2 separate regions of the Homo sapiens genome follow, and region 1 is linked to region 2. Evidence: promoter capture Hi-C in 16 types of primary human blood cells and fetal thymus (Javierre and others, 2016). All regions are on one chromosome and are shown on one strand. Each heading gives the region's core, a stretch centred on a gene start or on the middle of the fragment in contact. The rest is flanking DNA. Distances are from core to core; before and after follow the strand shown.

Region 1 (5,199 bases), core at 2,508-5,007, 1.5 Mb after region 2:
TACAGGTTTCTTGTTTACATTACTCTTCTATAACGTGGTGTATATTCATAACCTTAGTCACATACTCTTCCAGTGTTTAATTAAATGCTAGTACCTTTTCATGAAGTTTGACTTCCAGGTAATTCAAACAGGCATCCTAGAAAGAGAAACAGTCGTACTACAAGAGGTTTTTCTTTTTTTTTCTTTCTTTTTTTTTGTTTTTTTTTGAGACAGAGTGTTTTGTTTTGTTTTGTTCTGTTTTTGAGACAGTGTCGCGTTCTGTTGCTCAGGTTGGAGTGAACTGGTGCGATTTCGGCTCACTGCAACCTCCGCCTTCTGGGTTCAAGCGATTCTCGTGCTTCAGGCTCCCAAGTAGCTGGGATTACAGGCACTAGCCACCACACCCGGCTAGTAGAGACGGGGTTTCACTATGTTGGCCAGGCTGGTCTCAAACTCCTGGCCTCAAGTGACCTGCCTGCCTTGGCCTCTCAAAGTGCTAGGATTTCAGGCCAGAGTCACCACACCCAGCCACAAGAGGTTTCTCTTTACCTCTTAAATAATCAGCCTAAAAAAACAGATAAGTTATATTTTAAGGTAGTTTCTTGTGCTTTTCCTGTTTTTATTAGGTTTTTGACTACTTGGAAAAAGTTATCTCAATACAGAGCCAAGTTTATTTTTTTTCTCTCTGTCTCAACGGAGTTTTGATTTTGGATTTTTTTGGTTGGTTTTTTTTTTTTAATTTATTTTTATTTTTATTTTTTTTTTGAGACAGACTCTCGCTCTGTCACCCAGGCTGGAGTGCATGGCACGATCTCGGCTCACTGCAAGCTCCACCTCCCGGGTTCTCGCCATTCTCCTGCCTCAGCCTCCCAAGCTGGGACTACAGGCACCTGCCACCACGCCCGGCTAATTTTTTGTATTTTTGGTAGAGATGGGGTCTCACCATGTTAGCCAGGATGGTCTCGATCTCCTGACCTCGCAATCCGCCCGCCTTGGCCTCCCAAAGTGCTAGGATTACAGGTGTGAGCCACCATGCCTGGCCAATTTTTTTATTTTTTTGAGACAGAGTCTTGCTCTGTCGCCCAGGCTGGAGTTTAGTGGCACGATCTTGGCTCACTGCAGCCTCCACTTCCTGGGTTCAAGCAATTCTCCTGCCTCAGCCTCCCAAGTAGCAGAGATTACAGGCACGTACCACCCAGCTAATTTTTGTATTTTTAGTAGAGACAGGGTTTCACCATGTTGGCCAGGCTGGTCTCAAACTCCTGACTTCAGGTGATCCACCCACCTCAGCCTCCCAAAGTGCTGGGATTACAGGCGTGAGTCACCACACCTGGCCAGTTTTATTTATTTTTGAGGCAGGGTCGTCTTCTGTTGCCCAGGCTAAAGTGCAGCAGGGTGATCTCAGTTCATAGCAGCCTCAACTTCCCAGGCTCAAGCAATCCTCCACCTCAGCCTCCCAAGTAGCTGGGAACTACAGGTACATGTCACCACTCTCAGCTGAGTTTTGTATTTTTTGTAGAGATGAGGTTTTGCCATGTTGCAAAGGCTGGTCTCAAACTCCTGAGCTTAAGCGATCCGCCTACCTCGGCCTCCCAAAGTGCTGGGATTACAGGCATGACCCACCATGCCTGGCCTATGTTACTTCTTGTATTTGCTTTTGAAGTCTTTCATTTATCACTCTGATTAAATAAATGGCTATTATTTCTCAATGGCATGCAATTCTACTTTAATTAAATATTTTAAGCCTTTAACATCTTTGCCACTTTCCCAAAACCAAATTCTAATTTAAAAGTTTTTTTAACCTAAAATTGACTTTGGGATTGTCCTTTGGGCCTCTGGAAAACCTCTGTAATCTGTGTATGCTCTGAATTACAATTCTGTGATTCCCAAATAAAATGCCTAGAGATTCATCTCTATTTTCTTTTGACTTCAACATAGTAAAGGGCTAAGAGACAGATTGCCACCTAGAGCTTTTTTCCAAAATTATGTAGCCCTGGCTGCCTAATAGAAGAAAATTTAGTAATTGGCCTTCAAATTTAAAATGTGTAATCACCCAATCAATAATTCAGATATATTTTAATTGATAATTTGTTCTGCTGTTATCCTCTAAATTAAATATACACTCATTTTAGTTTCACTCAGGCACTAAGGAAATGACCCTAAAATTAATAAAAATCAGCAATAAATAATTTATTATTTGAGATCATTTAGACTACATGAAAAACATTTACTATTTGTCACATTTGGGCACACAATGTTTCTATATGAAACACAGCTAAGATATAAATAATATTTCTTGATTCAAAAATAAAAGTCCTTCCCTAATATCGGGAACAAGGCAAAAATTCATGCTTTTGCCACTCCTAGTCAACATTGCACTGGAAATTCTAGCAAGTATCAAACAGTAAGTACATCGGTGGAGGAAACTTTATGTAAATTTGTATAATCTGGTACAGTAGATAAAAACATCCAAACAAATTATAGTATTAAAATCCATAGGATTGGTATATTGAGGTGGGTGGGAGGATAAAAGGAGATAATATATATCAGCACATTCCTATCAAGGCACAGTTTCCCTTTTGCAATATGCCCTTGTTCTCATTTTAGAAAGAGATTACAAGGGGATTTCATGGAAAATAGTTTCAGGAGCAAAACCTGGCATATGGCATATCATAACAATAAACGATAAAGATGGTTCCTGCTCCCTCCAGGCTCTGTAATGCTCCCCGATTCACCGTCTCTTACAAGTTCCCTTAACCTACCCTCACCTTTGTGAATAGCCTATCTTTAAGTCTGTTCCCACTTAATTCATTTGAGTGGACTTCTCTCTGACAAGACCCTGACTAATACACTTGATTAACTGCTTTCCTAAACAGGAACAGTTTGGGAACACAACAGGTCTTTGATAAATGTTTGTTCAACTAAAATTAGAAGGATTCCAGGAACATCTCAGCAAAAAAGTAATAGCAAACATCCTAAGAGAAAGTGAAATGAAAAGAGGAGAACACTGTATCAGAAAGCAGCAAAGAAGGCTCAAGAGTTGCCCAGTTTCAAAACATTCAGTGAAGACATTTCAATAAGCATCAAGGTCATTGAACATTTTGTGGTGTTCGTTATGACATCTGCAAGTGACCTTCAGTACTCAATGCTCTAAGGTAATGCTCCTAAAAGATATTGCAACCTCCCAACAGTGAGATTTTTTAAAATAAAAATACAGGTTTGCCAGGAACTTCTTCCCTTGCCTCTACTCACTGATATCTCAAATCATTAGAATGGAAGAGGGAGAGGGACAGAACATCCTCTTACCTAGGCAGGTTCTTACATATGGTAATTTGCATAATCACTGGCACATGTAAAACCAGCCCCCTCTATCACAGGATGCCAGCTAATGCTTAAAAAATTCAGATTTGTGTCCTCAAATACAAGCTTCCATAACTTTAAAAAATTGTGAGAACTTTCCATTTTTATTCTAACTTTGATATTATTCATACCTTCTAAAAATACAACAAACAACATCATATGTCAATTACCATTCACTCAAAAGAATATATCTTATGGAAAGAGATGAGTTGTATCTTAATATGGCAACCTATCTAAGAAAAAAAGGATTTTTACTAATTCCTTAGATTTGCATAGCTATTGAAGAACTTTGATTACGAAAATTATTGAGGTTTTGGAAGAGAAAATAAGTCAGCATTCAGGGAACACTGATACTATAGCTGTTGATATTATCAAGACAGCATTTAGGGAGCTGTCATGGCAACCATAATTTAATCCTCCATGAGTGTCTTGGAACACCCAGGCACCCCCGGAAATGAGGAGGGTGATTCAGCGGGCGGCACACTCCTGTCCTTATGAGTCAGGAAAATACCAGTGCTCTCACTCACATTGCTGGAGGCACCATTCTATGAGATATAAAATGCAGCCACTATGTGATCTGTGACAGTTGCACAAGAGCAAAATGTTGGCTTCATTCAATATTCCTGCCAAGTCTATTTTGATTGATTTTGAGACAAATGTTCACTTCATGACTAATGCAGAGCCTTGATCTCTCATCTTTTTGTCTTTTAGGCAAATCACAGCATAGTCTTCACTTTGATCTTTGGGGTGTAAGGTCAGTGGGAAGGTTTAAAGCTTTGAACGTTTTTTTCACCACCTTACTGGTTTTGTTTGAAGGTTAGTGAGAGAAAAGGTTAAAATTAATGGCTAAAATGAGATAGTTTTAGCTTTCATTTCCTGGTATAACATCACAGATTCTAGAATTGTCAGGACTACCAAGTTTAAATCTAGATGTGCAGTAAAGCCTCTGTGCTTTGCATATTCTATAAAATCTGTGAAATCAAAGTGAACTGTTCTCTGACTCTGAAATATCTATTCACTATCCACGGTGTGCTAAGTCCAAAAGATTTATTTTAACAAAAGGAAGAGAAACAGGCAAATAACATGGCTACTTAGAAAAAGCACTAGAGCCAGGGTCACGCCTGTAATCCGTGCACTTTGGGAGGCCGAGGTGGGCAGATCACCTGAGATTGCGAGTTTGAGACCAGCCTGACCAATATGGAAAAACCCCGCCTCTACTAAAAAATACAAAATTAGCTGGGCATGGTAGCACATGCCTGTAATCCCAGCCACTTGAGAGGCTGAGGCAGGAGAATCGCTTGAACCTGGGAGGTGACGGTTGAGGTGAGCAGAGATCGTGCCATTGCACTCCAGCCTGGGCAACAAGAGCAAAACTCTGTCTCAAAAAGAAATAAAAGAAGAATAAAAGAAAAAAGAAAAGAAAAAGCCTAGAATAGCCGGGCACAGTGGCTAATGCCTGTAATCCTAGCACTTTGAGAGGCCAAGGCAGGTGAATCATTTGAGGACAGGAGTTCGAGACCAGCCTAGCCAACATGGTGAAACTCCATCTCTACTAAAAAAAAAATTGCCAGGTGTGTTGGCACCTGCCTGTAATCGCAGCTACTAGGGAGGCTGAGGGACGAGAATCACTTGAACCCAGGAGACAGAGGTTGCAGTGAGCCAGCATTGTGCCACTGCACTCTGCCCTAGGCAAAAAAGGAAGATCCTGTCTCAAAAAAAAAAAAACAGAAAAGTCCTTGCCATGTAGAACTTTCTGACCATTTTTTTCTGTTTGATTAACTTTCTATTTTGTGTGCGTGTGTGTGTGTAGAATAAGAGAGAATTTAACTAAATATATATGAAATCCTATTTCATATGGGG
Region 2 (4,949 bases), core at 1,786-4,285:
CAGTGAGCTGAGATCGCCCCACTGCAGTCCAGCCAGGGCGACAGATCCAGAACCTGTCTCAAATACATCATACATACATACATACATACATACATACATACATACATACATACAGGGAGTCCACAGACTTTTTCTTTCTTTTCAGTTGCTCTCTCCCTTTTGGCCTCCTTGTTAAAAACTCTACATACGTTTTCAAGTAAAACCTTCTAATTTACCCCAACAGATGAACCTGCTCTGGATTAAGCCAGAAGCAAGAGAGAACCCTGCTAGACCAGCCATTTCACCAGCTCCCTAAAATGCAGCTATATTTGGGAGACTTCTGTGTAGGAAGTAAGGCTAATAATGCAGTTCCCAGAAGATTAGGTGTGGTTTTAATGAGCTCACACAAGGCGGGTGGGGAGGGGAGTGGTTCCATGGTTCTATTTTTAAAACTCGTGTAAAGATCATCCTTTGTTGTCTAAACACGGCAGTAGAGAAAGAGACGTCTCTGTTTCTCACGTTACAATCAGAGGTAACAACCTGTGCTAACCTGGTTTCCAGCGAAAAGGCCAAAAGTGTACTGATAACTTCGGCTTCAGCTGAGACTGGGATAACCCGCTTGAGCCAGTGCCAAATTCCACCCATCCGGCGCGCAAGCGAGCGGGGCTTCTCCTCCCCAACCCCGGCCCAGGCTGCTTCTGCCGGGTCAGTGCTGCCGGGTTGGTGGAAGCTGCCTTCCCTCCCTCCAAGATCAGAAAGGCGGAGGGTTCAGGAAGGGGTTCTCCTCTAGGTGCAAGGGACTGCCTGGATATTTGGAGGGAATGGCAAAGCCCTGCTTCATGAGGTGAATGAATATAAATTAAATCGCTCTCGTATTTAAAATAACTTGACGGATGACAGTGCCCATTCAGTCAATCGGCCCTCGACGTTGGATTTGCTACCTGGGCTTGTTGTCTGCGAGTTAAGGTCCTGCAAAAAGCCCCTGGCTTGTCACCTCAACTAACCTATCTCCTCCAGCAATTCTCTCAATACATCCTCGGGTTGTATTGTAATTCATTTTCCATAGCAGAAATGTGGAGGGCTCTAGAGAAGGTACAAGGCAAATTTTTTTTTTAAATTTTATTTTTGGTTGGCCGCGGTGGCTCACGCCTGTAATCCCAGCCCTTTGGGAGGCTGAGGCGGACGAATCACCTGATATCGGGAGTTTGAGACCAGCCTGACCAACATGGAGAAACCCCATCTCTACTAAAAATACAAAATTAGCCGGGCGTGGTGGCGCATGCCTGTAATCCCAGCTACTCGGGAGGCTGAGGCAGGAGAATCGCTTGAACCAGGGAGGCGGAGGTTGTGGTGAGCCCAGATCGCTCCATTGCACCCCAGCCTGGGCAACAAGAACGAAACTCAGTCTCAAAAATTTTTTTGTTTTATTTTATTTTTTAAATTTGAGACAAGGCCTCGCTCTGTCGCCCAGGCTGGAGTGCCATGGCGCAATCATAGCTCACGGCAGACTCGAACTGCTGGGCTCAAGGGATCCCCCTACCTCAGCTTCCGAGGAGCTAGGATGACACGCGTGAGCCACCATGCCTGGCTAATTTTTAGATTTTTTGTAGAGACGGGGTAGCTATGTTGCCCAGGCTGGTCTCCAACTCCTGACCTCAAGTGATCCTCCCGCCTCGGCCTCCAAAGCGCTGGGATTACAGGCGTGCGCAACCGCGCGGAGGCAATCTAGAAACTGCAGAGGGAGCACGGACCTGGGCACTGGGAAGAATAGGGCGTGGACTTGGAGTGTGACCGCGTTTGAATCTGGGTTGTGCCTGGGACACCCCACCTCCTGGGCCGTAGGTGGGGGGGGAGAGAGAGAGAGAGAGAGAGAGAGAGAGAGGATGTCGACCTTACATGGCTCCTAGCTCTCCGCGCTCTAGCCGAATGCCTGGTTCCTAGTGGGTGCTTGATACGTGGGAAATGTAGGGGGAGGGGGTGGCGGGGCATTGGGAATGTCCCGCAGAGTGGATTTCGGGAGAGTGGCGCTTTTCTCTAGAACTCTCTTCCGGTTACACCTGGAGTAAAAGCTTGACACTCTAGAAGGAAAACCCCAGATGAGCAGCTAGGACTGAGGGTTAGCGGTAGGCGGGAGCGGGGAGATAGTACAAGTACGCTTCCTAATGAGGCGGTGCCGCAAAATAACCAATTTTAATAAAGACTGCAGAGAAGAAAACCAGGTTCTGCTGGCGGAGTGCACAGGCTCCCAGCCGAGCGCCCAACAACCAGGTTCCGGGCCCACCCTGCCGCAGCCTCTTGGAAATCTCTAAGTTGGAATGTGTGCGTGCGCACCACGGGTCACTGCCCTCTTTGTGTGTGAATTTGAAGCGAAATCTGGGCGAGGCGGGGCCGTGCTACTAGCAATCGGACCCACAGTCGCGGTTCCAAGAAGCCCCGAAGCTTCCCCGGCTTCCCGCAGCACTGCTGGGAGGGCACACGGCGCCTCTGTCCCCACCCCAGAGCGTGGGGCGCGCGGAAAAAGGTCTGGTGACTGCCCTCCCCGCCGCCCCCCGGGAGCGTGCCCTCCCGCCGGACCCTGGGACTCCAGAGAAGCGCCGAGGGCGCGAGTACACTAAGATATACGACCTTCCCTGGGGACCGGGAAGGGCACAACCACCTCTTGCAACTCCGCCACTAAGACGCCTTGGGTCACCAGGCCCGGGGGAAAACTCGTCCCCGTCCCAGGCTCTCGATTCGGGCCGCAGCTCACGTCCCGCGCTCCTCCCTGCGCGCCGCTCTGCTCCTCCCTAGTCCCGCCTCCAGCTCCGCCCGGGCGCCCAGAGGGCAAATGAGGGGCGGCGGGGTGGCGGGTGGGGGGGAGACGCGGAATTTCCCAGCGCGGGGGCTCTGGCTTACCCTGCAACCGGGCAGTCTCTTTCTGTTTACGGAGAGAAAGGGGAAATGGAAAAGTCGGGGAGGCGGTGGCTGGCGTCCGCTGCGCCGCCCCTGGGCAGGCTCAGACGCCGTGAGTCAGGGGCAGAGCAGGGCGGTCTGAGCGTGCGGGCGACGCGGGTCTCACTCGTCCGCTCCGCTCTGGACTGCGCGCCACGCTCTGGGGTCCGGCGCCCTGGTTCCTGCTTCTGCCGCTGCCGCCGCCGGATCCCAGTGGCCCGGCGTGCTCGGCTCCCACAGGCCTGCAGCCAGCATCGCACCGAACCTTCGGGGGGCCGCGGCTGGAGCGCTCGGCCGGCGTGGGAGCGCCAAGGCCGCAGGTAATCCAGGGTTGGGGGTCTCCGGCGTGTCTTTCGGGTCGCGTCCCGCCTGGGTGCCCCGGGGATTCCCATGCAGAAATGGAGGGTGCCCCCAGCAGAGGGGAAAACTCTGGCGTGGGAAGAGGTGGGGGCGTGCCCACAGCTGCGCTCGCGGGTCGCCGGCTGCACCAGGCACAGCTGGAAAGCACCTTGCGCAAGGGTCTCACGGGGTGCAGACTCGCGACTCCTCCCCCTTCCTCCTCCTTCCCGTATCCGCAGCGCCAGGGCAGTGCTGGTCTGGGCAGTGCGCGGGGAAGCGGGGACCCGCTGTCACTGCGCCTCCCGCTGCCGACGCCGCCTGGACGGCCGCACTCTCCCTGCCCGAGACCCGGTGAGTGCAGCTCGGAGGCTGGAGGACCCGATCCTCCCAAATGCTGGGTGCTTTGATAATTTATAAGCCTTTTAGGCTCCCTTGACTTAGAGAACCAGGAGGAAAGGAGTGGGAGTGTGGGTTGGCGGAGCCCAGAGACTTGTGAATGGCTGGAACTAAATTCAAGTTTGTAACCCGGACTCTATCCCATGACTAAAGAGGTCATAGCAGAACACGAAGGCTGGGCTTTTGGTCTAAGAAAGAATACTAGGAGAAAAAAAAAGTTATTTTCACGGAAGTTGTTTTCGAGCGATAGTGCATGATCAGGACTCTGAAATTTTTCTAGCTCTGGGCGGAGAAGGACGCCTAGGGATTGTCTCCATAGTTAACAGGGGAAGGCCACCGGCTGCCTGTAAGAGAGAAACGTTGCGATGCTTGTCTATTTCACTTTTGGGAAGACAAGATTAAAGGCTGCTCTTGATAAAAAACAGGGACAGAAAGGCTCTTGCAGTTGCTTTACATACCTGTGGCCTGAGTCGTTTGTGCCAAGGAGAGTGTAATCCACTTCCAGCTGACGCCCCCAGCTCTCTGCGACGGATTGAGGTTTGTGTGCAGGACGTCTGGCATACGGCCCATGAGGACTTTGTCGTGTAAAGCAAATGGGAACGTTGAGGCATGTAGAGGTTTTGAAGCAGAGTGTCGGTCCTTCCTTCCATACGCCTGAAACGCATAATCCGGGGCTTTTTGAGAGCAAAAACATAGTCAGAAATGTGCCCTGAGGGAGAATGTACTATTTTGGCACACATATGTATATATGTATATATAATTTTTAAATTTTTTTTGAGAGGGGGTTTCACTCTTGTCGCCCAGGCTGGAGCGCAATGGCGCGATCTCGGCTCACTGCAACCTCCACCTCCCGGGTTCAAGCGATTCTCTTGCCTCAGCCTCCCGAGTAGCTGGGATTACAGGCGCCCGCCGCCACGCCCGGCTAATTTTTGTAGAGACAGGGTTTCACCATGTTGGCCAGGCTGGTCTTGAACTCCTGACCTCAGGTGATGCACCCTCCTTGGCCTCCCAAAGTGCTGAGATTACAGGCATGAGCCACTGTGCCCGGCCTAAAAAAATATTTTAAATGAGAAATAACACAAGTAATAGTCATTCTTTGTTAGGCAGAAGCATATGCTGTTATGCTGGCCATTTTCATTCACACTTGCCAGGAAACACTCACATTTTGTTTCTGTATATGGAGGCAGCCAAGAGTATTATGTTAATGTTTAGGAAGAGAATTTCCTCGTGATTTTATTGCTGATTTCTGAAATAATTCAGTGTAACTAATTTTGACTGTATTTGCACATCTCTCCAATTCCAAA

Evidence for each region. Contacts are between HindIII fragments. The CHiCAGO score rates a contact against its expected background, and 5 or more counts as called.
Region 1: a contact is called between a fragment that was not itself captured here and the fragment with the promoter of MAP3K8 in region 2, in 1 of 17 cell types (total B cells). The highest score is 6.0, in total B cells.

What each region holds. Positions count from the first base shown.
Region 1 is chr10:31,937,171-31,942,369 of GRCh38, forward strand. All of the region lies in intron 2 of LOC107984219 (a long non-coding RNA gene), which reads left to right. Among named protein-coding and RNA genes, the nearest start is that of ARHGAP12, 11 kb to the left of the region's middle. RefSeq lists an enhancer at 3,293-4,492. The HindIII fragment of the contact is 708 bases long and covers 3,404-4,111 here.
Region 2 is chr10:30,431,149-30,436,097 of GRCh38, forward strand. It overlaps MAP3K8 (mitogen-activated protein kinase kinase kinase 8), which reads left to right and starts at 3,036. Exons shown (of 9, transcript NM_005204.4): 1 at 3,036-3,230. RefSeq lists enhancers at 1,023-1,904, 2,576-2,715, 3,436-3,535, 3,826-3,875, 4,000-4,537 and 3 more and a silencer at 2,756-2,995. The HindIII fragment of the contact is 9,039 bases long and covers 2,417-4,949 here.